4 separate regions of the Homo sapiens genome follow, and all the other regions are linked to region 2. The links are contacts of gene promoters, found by promoter capture Hi-C in blood cells and fetal thymus (Javierre and others, 2016). All regions are on one chromosome and are shown on one strand. The core of a region is centred on a gene start or on the middle of the fragment in contact, and the rest is flanking DNA. Distances in the headings are between cores, read along the strand shown.

Region 1 (3,525 bases), core at 354-2,853, 660 kb after region 2:
TTATTACTGATGGCCGATGGTGTACAGAAGGGAGTGCAATGGGACAAACGCATCCCTTCCTTTGGGATCAGACACACAGGCTCTGGGTTCCAGTTCTGCTACTAACATGCAACCTGAGCCTTAACCTCCCTAGACCTCAGTGTCCTCATCTATAAAACGAGAATAATAACACCAACCTCAGAGGGCAACTGTAAAAATTAAATGAGTTAATGCATGTTGGACTCTTAAAATAGTATCTAGTGTGGTATAAGATGAACATCAAAAGATTTTATTATTAAGTTTGGAAGAATAGTCATAAAATAGCTTTCTACATGAAACATCTACTACTGACATAACTTTAAAAAAAATAGCCACATACCCCAGAAAAACTCTTGCATAAATGCACCAGAAGACATGAGAAAGGATGTTCATAGCAGCTCTGTTCAATCTACAGAACTCTGGAAACAACCTTGTGGCTATCGAGGTAGAAAGGCAAATAAACTGTGGTATAGCCATGCAATGAGTGCAATCCACAGTGAAAATGAACACAGGACAGCTACAGGAAGCAACATTTAATGAAAGAAACCAGATGCACAAGGATCCATGCAACATGAGTCCATTTATGTGAAGTTCAAAAGCTGGAAAAAGAAACAATATGTCATTGCAAGATGGGTGCATTGGTTCTAAAACTGTAAGAAAAGCAAAGGAATAATTAAACACAAAATGCAAGAGAGGAGTCACCCTAGGCCAGGAAGGAGTAGGGTACAATCAGAACAAGGTACATAGGAAGCTCCTGAAATACACACATGTTCTATTTTTTCCTATAAGTGGTAGGTATTGCTACAGATCTAACCACCTATGCATTTTTTGTGTTGAAATATTTCACAATAAAAATAATTGTTATCTCCACAAAGTTAAAATCTATCCTCTTTACCTTGCCAGAGCCAAGACCATAGAGTGGAGATTCTGCCATCTTCCCTCCCCTCCTCCCTGCCACCTTCCCTCCCCTCCTCCCTTCCCCATGACAAGGTTTTTTCACTCTGAAGAAAACAAGTTGAATGTCCTTTTAGGTCTTCAAAAATTAGCAGCAATTAATTCCTGAAGTTTAATGAAATGGTGTCACATTTGAATTTTTCATATTCTTACATCTTTAAAATTGCTTAGTAAGGACCAGCCATTAGTAATTAGCTTGTGTTTATACATGTTGTTTTTATAAGGAGTTATACTGGTAGAAAAGGTGAAGTGTGGATGAGATGTACTTTGACTCACAGTGCTCCTCAGGACACCCAACCGCTGGTTTACTGGGGACATCACTGCTCAATTGTGAGCAGTGCCCCAAATTCCAGATGAGGGTACAAAGAGCTTCAGAAGTGCTGGCCCAGCAGCCCTGAACTCACAAAGGGACAGCAGGTGCCATACTCTTCTCTGGGGTGACCAGATAGCTCAACACAGTCTGTGACCTCCCACATTTGTCCTGCACAAGGCCACACTCTGAATGTTTTGCACAGATACCCTGAGAGCCCTATTCTCTTCTATTTTTTTCCTCTCCTCTCTTTTCCCATCAATCCTGCTTCTGTTCTCATTCCCTAAGTCTACTCTGCCTGCCTTTGCCCTTGAAGCATAGCAGCTCCAGGGGGCTATAAGCCAGGCCATTTCACTTCTCTTTTCTTCTCCTCAATTTAATGCAAACCTCTGTACTTTACGAGCTAATTTTTCTAGGACCTGCTCTATTGGAGTGGGGGGTGGTTCACTGGGTAAGTAGAACATAGTACAGTCTATCAAAGTATTGCCATATACCAGAGGTATGCAAATAACTAAAACTGATGTTTTCCACCCCGTCCTTCAATTCTTAGCCACGGGGTGCTGCACATCTAACTCATACTCCTTCCCAGCCCCCAAGTAGCCTCACATCGCCGTGTGTCCCTAAATGACCCCTCATGGTTCTAACCATCCCAATCCACTCTGACTCTGCCCGTCTTCCTTAGATGGACTCTCTCACACCCTAAATTCACAGATACTCCCCTGTAAACAACTTTCACTACCCTCTTGAACTTATCCAAAGATTAGGAAGTCAAGGGGTTGTCACAGCTTATAAGTGAGAAGGCAATGCAACTCCTGGCTCCATCACTTACCAGCTGGGAGACTTCGGGCAAGTTATTTAACCTCCCTGACCCTTGGTTTCCTCATCAGTAAAATGGGGATAATGGCACATACTTCATATGATTGATGTGAGAATTAGAGATCATTTACGATATATAATGATGATCACATAGTAGGTGACCAATTAAAAAGAAACATATTCTTATCAAACTAAGATCCATGTTTCTCTACACAGTTCTTTCTAATTCTAATTCTCTATACAGTTTTTCCTAATACAGGGGGAAATGTACTGAAGTGATCCAACCTCCATCTCCTGGGTTCAAGCAATTCTCCTGCCTTAGCCTCCCATGTAGCTGGGAATACAGGCACGTGCCACCATAACGGGCTAATTTTTGTATTTGTAGTAGAGACGGGGTTTCACCATCTCTGGTCTTAAACTCCTCCACTGAGGCTGGTCTTGAACTCCTGACCTCAGGTGATCCACCCCCCTCAGACTCCCAAAGTGCTGGGATTACAGGTATGAGCCACTGCGCCCAGCTGTGATTCAATTTAGCATCACCAATCTGACATTTTATGCTTCCTGGGGTGATATAATAAGAGTTACACAGCATATTTTATGAAGTATTCTGTCCCAACAATGTTTAATTTAAACCTAATCCAGCCTCTAGCCCAGTGCTGTCCAACAGAATTTTATGTGAAAATAAACAATAAATAAAATAAAAATAAATAATAAAGAAGTGTTCTTTATATGCACTGTCTAATAAGGTAGGCACTACTTACAGGTAGCTGCTGAGGACTCAAAATGTGGATAGTGCAACTGAATAACTAGATTTTTAACTTATTTAGTTTTTACTAACTTAAATTTAAGTAGCCACATCTGCCTATTGTCTACCAAATTGGACATCCCAGCTCAAGATTTACTTTCTAATTTATAGAAAATACAAGGGCTAGAGCCACAAATTAAATTATGTAAAATGTAGTTTTAAAATCCTTAGGACAGTTAGGAAAATTGAATCTGAGATGAATAGTAAGTGGTGCTTTGGAATTATTGTTAATTTTCCTGAATAAGAAAATAGTACTCTCCTTATTCTTAAGAAATTCCTGCTGATGTATTTAAGGGTGACATGCCATGCTTTCTGCCACTCAAATAATTGGGCAACTGTGAAAGCAAATATGGTATAATGTTAACTGTTGAATCGGGGTAAACAGGTGGAGCATCAATGCATGTGTGTTGTATTATTCCAATTTTCCTCAATATTTGAAAGCTTTCATCATAAAAAAGATAAAAGACAAATATTTAATAATCTGCTGACTGTTCCCATGGTAGGAAAAGTGAGATGGTTTTCAGCTGCCAACTGAAAAATCTGGAGATGGGGAAATCCAGATTTGTGTTTCAGGAGCACTTTAGCCACAGCTGTGATGGAAATGAGAGATGGTATTTATTAA
Region 2 (3,677 bases), core at 32-2,531:
TCATCAGCAGCAAGACGGGCATTGTCAATCTGCAGAACGATGCGGGCATTGTCCACAGTATTTGCGAAGATCTGGAGGGATTGTAGAGAGAGGTTGTTCCATGAATAGAAAGCCAGGGATGGGTGGGGTGAGTGTGTAAAAAGTGTTATGTATCCTAGTGAAAACTTCCTGGTCCCAGGAATAGCCAGAGGCTCTCCCTGGACACCTATCCCTTTTCATCTAGCCCCACCCCATTCCCTCCTTTCCTGGATTCCCAGATCCCAGCACTCTGCCCCTCTTGGGAAGCCTCAGCAGGCTGGCTAGCTGGCTGGCCTGCCTGCCCAGAAGTGAGTCGCTACTAACAAGTCCTCTTCCTGGCCCTCTCCTGGCATTTTTTCCCTAGTGCACCTGGTCACTCTGGGCCCCCTACACCCTGGATTGGCTCCTCCCAAAGGAAGGCCTCTTGTTTACTCCTAGATGACTCAGCCTTAGCCACATCCGCTTAACCCTCCAATAGTCCCCATTCCGCCAGAGCCAGTGTCTCCTCCTCTTTACAGGCCTTTCCTTACCTCCCTCCATGCTGTCCACTTCCTCTGTAAAGCTCTCAACCCTGTCCCCTTCCCCCTCTCTCCTGGGAAAGAGCCCTCCCATGCCTAGCTGCTGCTCTTAGGGACCCTGTGGCTAGGTGCGCGGATGGAAATCCAGGTATGCCCAACCCCCTCCCGGTGGAGTAGGGGTTGGGTGGTTATGGAATGACGGAAAGAGGCAAAGGAGTGTATAATTGGAGGGTCAGACAAGGCTGGGAGTTGAGGTCCCTCCTACCCCTTACCTGAGCCCTCAGGTCCTCGATGATCTTGAAGTAATGGCTCCAGTCTCTGACCTGGGGTCCCTTCTTCTCCAAGTGCTCCCGGATTTTGCTCTCCAGCCTCCGGTTCTCGGTCTCCAGGCTCCTCACTCTGTCCAGGTAAGAGGCCAGGCGGTCGTTCAGGCTTTGCATGGTCTCCTTCTCGTTCTGGATGCCTCCCATTCCTGCCAGACCCCCGGCTATCCCGGTGGCCAGGCCCCCGGACCCCATGCCGCCCCTGAAGCTGGTGGAGCGGGACACGGAGATCCGGGAACCAGAGCCCCCAGCGCCTGCATAGACGCTGGCCGCGCTGCTGACCGGCCGGGCGCCGTAGCTGGGCGCCTGGACAGAGCCCAGGGACCGGTAGTTGGTGGAGAAGGTGGAGCGAGTGGTGAAGCTCATGCTGTCCGGGGAGAGAGAAAGGACAGGACTCAGGCTTTGCGGACGACGGTGGCGGCCTGCGCGAGCCGCGCGACCCGAGTTATATCGCAGAGTGAGGCCCCGCCCCCGCCCCGGAGCCGCTTCGGAAGCCGGAGCCACAGGTGGACGGCTCGGAGCCCGCGCCCTCCGCCCCGGGCCGCTCCGCCCCGGGCCCCACCCCCGCGCCCTCCGCGCAGCCCTGCCAAGCCCCGCTCACCCCCCAGAAACGGGGTGGCCAACCGGGCATGGACACGGACAGCAGGTGTTGTTGGCCCTCGAGGCTGCTTTCAGGGCAGGAAATGACGTTATTATGCTCTTCTCCCCCAGGTGGAGGAGGTGCTGGCGAGTTTGAAATTTGGGAGTCTTGACCGGGCGCAGTGGCTCACGCCTGTAATCTCAGCACTTTGGGAGGCCTAGGTGGGCGGATCACGAGGTCAGGAGATCGAGACCATCCTAGCCAACATGGTGAAACCCCCTCTCTACTAAAATACAAAAAATTAGCCGGACGTGATGGTGCACGCCTGTAGTCTCAGCTACTTGGGAGGCTGAGGAAGGGGAATCGCTTGAACCTGGGAGGCGGAGGTTGCAGTGAGCCGAGATCGCGCCACTGCAGCCTGGCGACAGAGTGAGACTCTGTCTCAAAAAAAAAAAAAAAAAAAAAGAAAAAAGAAATTTGGGGGTCTGGTGGTGTGCGGGTGGAATGGCCTGTGAGTCCCTCTAGCTGTCCTTAACCTGCAGCCCAAATTATCCACTTGTGGAGGGGATCTTGGGGGCATCCTGGAGCCCCAGGAGTCCCGGGGAAGAAAGGCTGGGAGCTGGAGAAGAGGAGGAGAAGCAATGCCCAGCCTCATAGCTGCTTGCTTACACACTCACACCCCAGCTGCACCTGGCTCCCAAACACTCCTCGCCTGCCCACGTTTCCTCACACACACTCACACCCGAATCATACAGAGGTGTGCTCTCAAATGCACACACACATACATTCACTCAGCAAATAGGTGCAGACTCCCCAAAACAAACCCAGTCTCTGAGCCCCCTCCACCACCCTCCCCTCTCCCGACCTCACTCCCAAGGGCCTTGCCTCAGTGGAACACTGTGATTTGGACAGGGAATGCATCCTGACTTCTGCACACCGGTATATCACCTTTCCTGCATCCTTAATTAAACAAATCCTGAGCATTTACAATTCAACCAGTATGCATTCAGCACCTACTGTGAGCCAGGCCCAGTTCTAGGAGCTGGGAGAGAAGGGCGGTGACAAAAGAGACCAAAAATCTCTCACAGAGATGATAATGTGTCCCACATCGCCGGGCACAGTGGCTCATGCCTGTAATCCAAGCACTTTGGGAGGCCGAGGCGGGTGGATCACTTGAGGTCAAGAGTTCGATGCCACTGCACTCCAGCCTAGACAACAGAGCAAGACTCTGTCTCAAAAAAAAAAAAAAAAAAAAAAAATTTGAGACCAGCCTGACCAACATGGTGACACCCCTTCTCTACTAAAAATACAAAAATTAACCAGGCACAGTGTGTGCCTGTAATCCCAGCTACTCAGGAGGCTGAGGCAGGAGAATCGCTTGAACCCAGGAGGCAGAGGTTGCAGTGAGCCAAGATCGTGCCGTCGCGCTCCAGCCTGGGCAACCAGAGCGAAACTCTGACTCAAAATAAATAAATAAATAAATAAATAAAAGTAATGTGTCCTACATCGCATGGGGCCTGAGAGGACAGGCAGGCACTCCTAGGACCATCATAGCAGCGACCCAGCCCTGGTGGCCAGTGCCCCTCCCCTCTTTTCTAGGACTTTTCTCCAAGCCAGTCCTTCCCCTGTCCCCCCTTGTAAGGGCTGTCTGGATTAGAAGCCTGGCCCCAGGGGACTGCATCCTCCAAGATGCTCTCCCCAGCCTCTGTGTGAGAAGGATGGAGGTAGGGAGGCTTTCATGCTGCCTGCCCCCTGAAGCTGAATGACCATCCCTGCTGAATGAAGTGTTGGGGGGAACCCTTAGGTGTTTGGCCTTCAAGTTTGTCAGCTCCAGCAGCTCGTTTTTCTGGCAGGGCCTGGTATGACACATTTGGCTGTGTTCTTTGCTCTGGAGTGGACCTATTGATTCTTATCGAGCTACCAGCTGAGGGGGAAGGGGAGGACAAATAGTAGGGCAGACCTGGGAGAGAAGGGACCCTGGAAAAGCCTGGCCAGTGGACCTGCCAGGTGGGAGGCAGAGCACAGATAAAGAGCCTGAGCCTGGATTGTTCCTGATCTGTCACCTAATGGTGGGGAGAGCCCCACAGTGCTCAATGGGAGCCAGCCAGGGGGCAGTCAGGGTGGAAGCTGGCCAGGGGAGGGTCGGGGCCTGCTGAAGGCTGGGAGGCAAACGGGATGCAAAATAACATACAAATGAATGCCCACTGGTTTTGCATACAAGGCTTCTGGGAGGTAAGA
Region 3 (3,770 bases), core at 177-2,676, 550 kb after region 2:
ATGTCCAGCCGGGTGGCCATGGTGAACTTACTCAACTCCTAATCTCAGTTTCCACTTTACGAAAAGGGAGGAGGAGGCCAGCAGCTGTCCACATTACTAGGACCTGGACTTTTTTCAGATACAGCCATGTAGGATGCAGCACAGTAGGTGAAAAGAGCTTAGAGTCCCTTGATCCGTCTTTTCCCCTGAGTGTCCCTAGGCTGTCATAAAGGAAAGCCTCGACCCCCAAGCTTCACATCCTCTGACACTAGTATGAAGTTAACAGAGTCCCTTCCCATACACTGTCCCAGGTAGGAGCTTTGGGAAGCAAAGTGAGGCTTGAAGGGACAGGATGTCTTGGTCAAGGTCACGAGGATAGAGAGAGGCAGGCAGGCAGTGCTGAAACAGGACTTGCCTAGGCCTCTTGGAGAAGTACCATCCACTACAACACGCAACCTCTGAGTGGAAAGTAGGGGTCCACTAGGCTCTCCCAGGCAGGGGAGACACAGACACACATGCCCTCAGATGCCAGTCTATGCAGAGACCCTGATTTTTGCAAATTCTAGTGCACTGGTAGCCATGTGTTGGGAGACAGGGCAGAAACTCATTCCATTGCCCTCTCTAAGTCATGGTCCCCAGGATCTCTGCTGCCTGGTGATATTCCATTCTTGGCTGCAGGTCCGTTTCCTGGAGCAGAAGAACAAGCTGCTGGAGACCAAGTGGAACTTCATGCAGCAGCAGAGGTGCTGCCAGACCAACATCGAGCCCATCTTCGAGGGCTATATCAGCGCCCTTCGGCGGCAGCTGGACTGTGTGTCCGGGGACCGCGTGAGGCTAGAGTCAGAGCTCTGCAGCCTCCAGGCTGCACTGGAGGGCTACAAGAAAAAGTGAGTCAGTGCTGCTTTTACCCCACTGGTGGACCTGGGGCAAGGGACAGAAACAGTCTGGGCCCTGATTCCCCATTTATAAAATGGGAAGCCTAAACTTAGTTCACTGGGTGGCAGAACAGTTAGGTGGGATGGTGTCAGCAGGGCACCCCACTTGGCACACGGTAGGAGCTCTGAGACTGTGTATTGCCATCTCTCTCCCCACTACTCCACCTAAATAAAGCCCTCAGATCTCTCTCTCTCTGTAAAATAAGCTCTTTCATGTGTGGCTTCTGGAGCTCCAGCTTCCAGCTGAAACTGCCTGTTGTGCCTTTGCAGATCCTGAACTACTTCCTATTCCACAGACAGATCCCCAGGCCTCTTCCCTCCGGGCTTTTGTTCCTGCTGCTTCTCCTGCCTGACACACCCCTGTCAGCATCTCTCTGCTCCATGTCCAAGCTACCACAGCCCACCTTTTCTCTCACCCCCAACTCTGGCTTCCTGCACAGCCCTTCTGCCCTTTCCCTGCATATCAGGCTCTAGCTCCTTCTGCCTCACTTCCCAGTTCTTTGTGGTTCCTGTTTTGTCTTCTGCCACACTTGCTCCCCCTGAGGATGAGCTCCAGGTCTAATTCACAGCTTGGAGTAGGTGGTTGATAAGCATATGGTAATTAAGTGCTTTCAAGAGGCTGAGGCCCAGATAAATTTTCTCACCAGGTCCCGGGCTGAGTGCCCCATGGGAATCCAGTGTCCTATGGGAATCCAGTGCCCCATGGGAATCCAGTGCCTTGTGACAGTCCAGTGTCCTATGGGAGTGCATGTTAGAGGCAGGCAAGTTGAAACAGGTGTCTTTCTATTGAGGAGAAACAGGGCAAATATACTGAGAGCAACAGGTCATAAGGGTTTGGGTCAGTGAAGTGGAGCCGTGTTGGGGACACTCACTGCAGGTGTCAACCACATGCCTACTCAATGCCAGACACTGTGCTAGAAAGTGTGGGTGCTATTGAAAGAAAAAAGGCTAACTCTTTCCCAGTCCAGTGTGCACAGACCACCTGCACCTACACACAAACAGAGAAGAAGGGAGAGGAATCCCAAGAAAGGGAAAGAGCGGGAGTCCAGGAAGCCTTCCTGGAGGAGGTGCGATTTGCTCTGGCCCTTGGAGGATAATGGCTCATTCCAATGGCATTATCCTCCATTTTGGAAATGGGGAAAGGACAGGAATGGGTGGCAAGAAAGAGGAAGGGCCTGCCAAGTGAAGGGGACAACTCTAGCAGACTGTGACAGGTGAGATGCAGTGAGGCTGTGGGAGGGCTGGAGGCCAGCCTGTCAGCAGAAGCAATGCCTTTCTTGAGGAGTGAGTAGCAAGGTGAGATTAAGAGACAGGATTTGCAGCTCAAGATGAGAACTTTGGCTTTTAAAAGTGAGACAATCGGGGAAGGATGAGGTCCAACTGGTATTTTAAGAATAATAGCAAACACTTTCACAGTACAGAGCCTGTACCAGGCACTGTCCTAGTGCTCTTCAGGTATTAATGCATGTGACATGTTAGCTCACAACAGCCCTGTGAGGCAGAACTAGTGTTAGCCTCATTCTATGGATGACGAAGCTGTGCATCATGAGGCAGAAAGGCCAAGTCACTTACCCAACTTGCCCACAGCTTGCACGGGACAGAGCCAGAATTCAAACCCAGGGGGCTAGGCTCCAGAGTCCAGGGCCGTTGCTGCAGCAGTTCTGCTGGAAAAAAAGAGAGATGGACATGATGAAGCAGAGAAGCTTTTAATGAATTGATGCTGCTTATCAAACTGAACCCCCTGACCAATTCCCTCTGCCTTAGGGGAGTGGTGAGTGGGCTGAGGAGCCCCAAGGAGCCTGAGGAAATAGCCTGGCTGTCTCTGTGGGTCTGGTAAGATGGATAATTGCTACCTCTGCAAATGGACCACAGGTAGAGGCCAGGCTCTGAACCCTCCCAGCGAGGAGGATGCACAGGGTCAGCCGGGAATTTCAGTGACTCAGAAAAAAACAGCTAGGCCAGCAGCACAGCCTTCTTCTACGTTCCCAAGGGAGGCCACTAGGTGAAGTGAACCTCCTCAGCAGCAAGAGAGAATGAAGGTAGCCTTAAGGAGGATCTCCCAGGGAGGACTCATCGCGGGAGAAGGTTCCTGAGGAATGGGGAGAAGAGTAAACTTGACAAGTGGCTACTCATCCATCTCAAGTGGGTGGAGGAGCTAGAGTTGCCAAGACAGGGCTGGACCTGGGCACTCCCCAGGGCATTCAGTCAGTGACAGGCAGAGTTGCCCCCAAAGGCCTGATGCCAAGATCTCTTCCAAAATCCACAAGCCCGACTAAAGCATTTTTTCCTGCCTTTTCCATCAGATACGAAGAGGAGCTCTCCCTGCGTCCCTGTGTTGAGAATGAGTTTGTTGCCTTGAAGAAGGTAAGGAGGAAGCTCAGAGAGGCAGAGCCCCTGAGCTGGCCTGCGTTGCCCCAGGCCACCTAGCCCTGAACTCAGTCCAAACGTGTCTGCAGCCCACCCACTCTGAAAAAGGGTTTTTCGCCCCTCAGACTCCTGTGCCAGCCCCACTAACTCTGAGAATGAGGAAGGCCGGCCTCCTCTCCCCCAACTTTGTCCCCTTGCAAAAGGCCAGCCATTGGCCTGGCCTCCACTTCCCCACTCATGCAGGCCGAAGCTGGGTTAAAGTCATGTCTAACCCTGCCCGAGCAGCTGGAGATGGGACAGATGCCAACGCCAAACCAAAACAAAAGCTCAAAAGCTCTGCCGCAAGCCCCCAAATACAATTGCGATGGTTCCTCAGACAGGTAGCCAGGTATTTCCAGGCCCAGGCTCTGCAAAGTGGGCTCTGAGATGCTGCTGCTAAGGCTCATTTAAGCCCCACCCCCTTCAGATCCTTTCCCATCAGGAAGCCAG
Region 4 (3,610 bases), core at 853-3,352, 520 kb after region 2:
GAGATCAACTTCATCCACTCAGTCTTTGATGCAGTAAGAGTCTGCAAGTATTTCTGTCTCTCCTAGGTCTGGAGCCTGGAAAGAAAAGGATGATGCATTGTGCCATTCATTCATTCAGTGCCTCTGCCCAGCATCTTGCTTGGATACTTCAAGCTGGGGCTTGGGTGGTAGGGGGACCAGGGAGAACCACTTGGAGCCTTGTCATACTAAACTACCCCAGCTCTGATGCTTCTCCCCCGAACTCCCTTATCCCATGGCAGGACAACATCTAACAAGGAGAGAGTACTGATTCCCAAATTCTAGGACACTGGGTAATTTCCCAAGGAATCAACACATACCTGCTCCCTTCCCCTTCCCTGAAAAGTATTAAAAAAAAAAAAAGGCAAGCTGTCCCTCAGCTCATTGGTCAGGGGGCTTCCTACCCTTTGAAGATGCCTCATTCTGGGCGCTACCCCTCCAAAGGCAGAGACCTGGGTCTGTGGAAAGGGAGAGAGAGGTAGAAAGTGATGGAGTCACACTGTGCAGGGGGAAGCAGTGTCCCAGATGTCCCCAATGCTCTTAAAGAAGCCGTTTATGTTGGCATACTGAACAGACACGTGTCACATTCAAATCTATGTAATTCCAATTCAGAGGATGCTTACCCACCCTCATGCCTGGGGAAAGCACACAGATGGGAGCCTTGAGAAGTAAGGCTGGGAAAGATTTTCACCACACTGATCTTTTGGGATGAATGGGAATACCTAGGGAATAGCTGGGAGAATCTGCCAGGAATACCAAGGAAAGGATTCCTGACCTAGATGGGTAGTTAACCACGAAGATTTAAGATTCTTCATCTTATGCCTTGGTGATGCTGAGTTTACTGCCCTGCAGGAGCTGTCCCAGTTGCAGACCCAGGTCGGTGACACATCCGTGGTGCTGTCCATGGACAACAACCGCAACCTGGACCTGGATAGTATCATCGCCGAGGTCAAAGCACAATACGAGGACATTGCCAACCGCAGCCGGGCCGAGGCTGAGTCCTGGTACCAGACCAAGGTGAGCATGGACACCTCCATGAGAGGTTCCAGGGTTAGTGTTCTCTGAGGCTCCACATTATCACTTAACTCAGCCTCAGGAAACGTGTGAGCACATTCGTTTATTTCAACTTAGCAGGCATGTCTTTGATGCTATGACAACTTAGCTTGAAATGCATGTGGAAACCGAACCAGACACACTAATACATGGTCAGCCCAATGCTGGGAGCTCAGGACATCCACTGGCCCCACATTCCTCAAGATCTGGGTGGGAGCAGGGTGAGACACCAGGACAACCGAGACACAGTCATGAAGCAGTTTCTAAAAGGCTTATTTATTCTCTATATATTTTCTGAGCTCCTGCTGTATGCCAATCAGGGTTACAGGGTTGCAAATAAATAAACTGCAAACAGAGAACCCAAGCTCTGGGAGGCCATGAAGTGAATGGACAATCATGGAAGGGAAAAGATAGCATGAATAAAAAGCTTCCAGGAAGACATGGGGGCTTTGTACAGTTGGGAAGCCATGAGGGACAAAAGATTGCTGAGGAGTGGGGAGAGGTTTAAGGCTGAACAAGGAGCTGGCAGGCAAGAACAAGCAAGGGAGTTTATGTCAGGAAGAGGAAGGCTGGGATAAACACAAACAGCTACTGCCCAGAGCTCAGACAGCCGCAAAGAAGTTTGGCTTTGCGGGGTACAATTGACCCATGATACCAGCTCCCTGTCAAATCCAGACCCCTCTTGGGGCAGCTTCTCACCTACGAGCAGGTTCCAACTCTTTCCCTGCTCCATACGTTGCCTCATCCCTTCTGGTCAGGAGTGTGGTGGAAAGGAAGGTGGGTAGCAGGGACCAGGGTTCCACAGGGCAGAGGCAGCGCCTTGACGGTGAAAGGAAACATGATGCACTTAACCCCAAGGTGAAGTGGTTGAAATCGATAGCAAACGATTCCTCATGTTGTTGGGTTGTTGCTCCATTTAATCATGTATACCTAGAAGCGGGAACCTGAGCTATTCAGCACTTTCAAGAACCCCACAGATCTTGACTCTGGCAGGGGATCTCCTTTTGTCAGGGAAAGGTGTAGGTTTCACTTCAGTCTGCTGGAGGAGACAGGGTGTAATTATTGCTCTTAAATTCACATGTCCTGGATATGCACCATTAGATTGAGAACTACCTGAGATTGGGAATACTTTTACAAAGTCTTCAAAATTGTGCCTTCCACAGCCTCTGCACCATCCCACACCATTCCCCCATATCTCCTCCCTGTTTCCCCAGCACTGGTGTTTGGAGGGCTACCAAAATTCATGGGCACAGTTGGTCTGGATGCACGCTCTGTGACCAGGAACTACCCAGGGACCTTGATCAAATCACCGTCTCACTCCTAGAACTCACCATGTTCCTTCCCTGACCCAGAGTCTTCATGCAGGCTGTTTCCTTTGTCTGGAATGTTCTCCCCCACAACTGGTCACTTAGGTCCCTCCTTCTCATCCTTCAGACCACAGTTCAAGCATCTCCATCTCTGGAGAGACTTCTCTGACCACCACTTCCCACTTCCAAATCTAGGTCAGATTCCTTCATTACACTCTCCCAGGACCCTGTTCATTTCCTAAGGGCACTTATCTTAGTGTGGAACTATACATTTGATAATATGCTAATTCAGTTAATGTCTATGTCCCCCAATAAACTGTAAGCTTCAGGGGGAATGAGTGAATGACCAGGAATGAATGAGCCTGCTTGTGGCACCCAGGGTGGGTCTGTGTGCACAGCGAGTGCCTGGGCCAGGCATTTGACTCAGTGACTGGGTTTGCTCTGGTTCTCTCAGTACGAGGAGCTGCAGGTCACCGCAGGCAGACATGGGGATGACCTTCGAAACACCAAACAAGAGATCTCTGAAATGAACCGCATGATCCAGAGGCTGAGAGCTGAGATTGACAGCGTCAAGAAGCAGGTAAAGATTTGGCAGGGCCAAGAGCTCCTCAAATGCTCATTTCTTCTGGGCCTTTCTGCCATCTTTAAGAACTCCTCCCCAAGAAGCACCACACCTCCATGGGCTGTCAGCAGGACTCATGGCTTCCTCCTGTCCTTACAGTGTTCCAGCTTGCAAACGGCCATTGCTGATGCAGAGCAGCGGGGAGAACTGGCTCTCAAGGATGCACGGGCCAAGCTGGTGGACCTTGAGGAGGCCCTGCAGAAGGCCAAGCAGGACATGGCTCGGCTCCTGCGTGAGTACCAGGAGCTGATGAACATCAAGCTGGCCCTGGACGTGGAGATCGCCACCTACCGCAAGCTGCTGGAAGGCGAGGAGTGCAGGTGAGGCAGATGCACCAACTTCATCCTCAAAGCAAGTTGAGCTCACCTCAGCTTCCTGGGCATTCCTAGGGGCTCGGGCTGTTGCAGCCCCTTCTTCTCCTGGAAGAAAATGCAGTTCAGAATTGGGCTATGGCAAAAAAATAATTTTAATTTCCTTCCAGGCTAGTAAATCATTTGAGGTGCAACTACAGTTAGCATCCCCATAGAAACCTAAAACCTGATCAGGTCTAAGTAACTGAATTCTACCAAAGGAGACATTTGGTTACATGGCAGCTCTCGAAATGTGGTCT

Evidence for each region. Contacts are between HindIII fragments. The CHiCAGO score rates a contact against its expected background, and 5 or more counts as called.
Region 1: a contact is called between a fragment that was not itself captured here and the fragment with the promoter of KRT18 in region 2, in 1 of 17 cell types (M2 macrophages). The highest score is 5.3, in M2 macrophages.
Region 3: a contact is called between a fragment that was not itself captured here and the fragment with the promoter of KRT18 in region 2, in 4 of 17 cell types (erythroblasts, M0 macrophages, M2 macrophages and 1 more). The highest score is 6.9, in erythroblasts.
Region 4: a fragment that was not itself captured here is called in contact with the fragment with the promoter of KRT18 in region 2 in 1 of 17 cell types (M0 macrophages); the score reaches 6.5 in M0 macrophages.

The regions. Positions count from the first base shown.
Region 1 is chr12:52,291,948-52,295,472 of GRCh38, reverse strand. All of the region lies in intron 2 of KRT86 (keratin 86), which reads right to left. Among named protein-coding and RNA genes, the nearest start is that of KRT81, 2.2 kb to the right of the region's middle. The HindIII fragment of the contact is 3,486 bases long and covers 1-3,346 here.
Region 2 is chr12:52,946,722-52,950,398 of GRCh38, reverse strand. It overlaps KRT18 (keratin 18), which reads right to left and starts at 1,281. Exons shown (of 7, transcript NM_000224.3): 1 at 809-1,281; 2 at 1-71. The coding sequence starts at 1,225. It also overlaps a transcript of KRT8 not described here. RefSeq lists silencers at 238-252, 356-374, 598-621, 1,283-1,332, 1,373-1,452 and 3 more, enhancers at 409-508, 110-764, 1-875, 699-1,292, 1,293-1,886 and 1 more, promoters at 1,252-1,313, 1,523-1,605, 1,683-1,693, 1,614-1,693 and a cis regulatory region at 1,523-1,605. The HindIII fragment of the contact is 10,122 bases long and covers 1-3,677 here.
Region 3 is chr12:52,400,797-52,404,566 of GRCh38, reverse strand. It overlaps KRT82 (keratin 82), which reads left to right. Exons shown (of 9, transcript NM_033033.4): 2 at 658-866; 3 at 3,218-3,278. Among named protein-coding and RNA genes, the nearest start is that of KRT82, 3.7 kb to the left of the region's middle. The HindIII fragment of the contact is 2,387 bases long and covers 233-2,619 here.
Region 4 is chr12:52,427,966-52,431,575 of GRCh38, reverse strand. It overlaps KRT75 (keratin 75), which reads left to right. Exons shown (of 9, transcript NM_004693.3): 4 at 1-33; 5 at 871-1,035; 6 at 2,833-2,958; 7 at 3,100-3,320. Among named protein-coding and RNA genes, the nearest start is that of KRT75, 4.6 kb to the left of the region's middle. The HindIII fragment of the contact is 1,203 bases long and covers 1,501-2,703 here.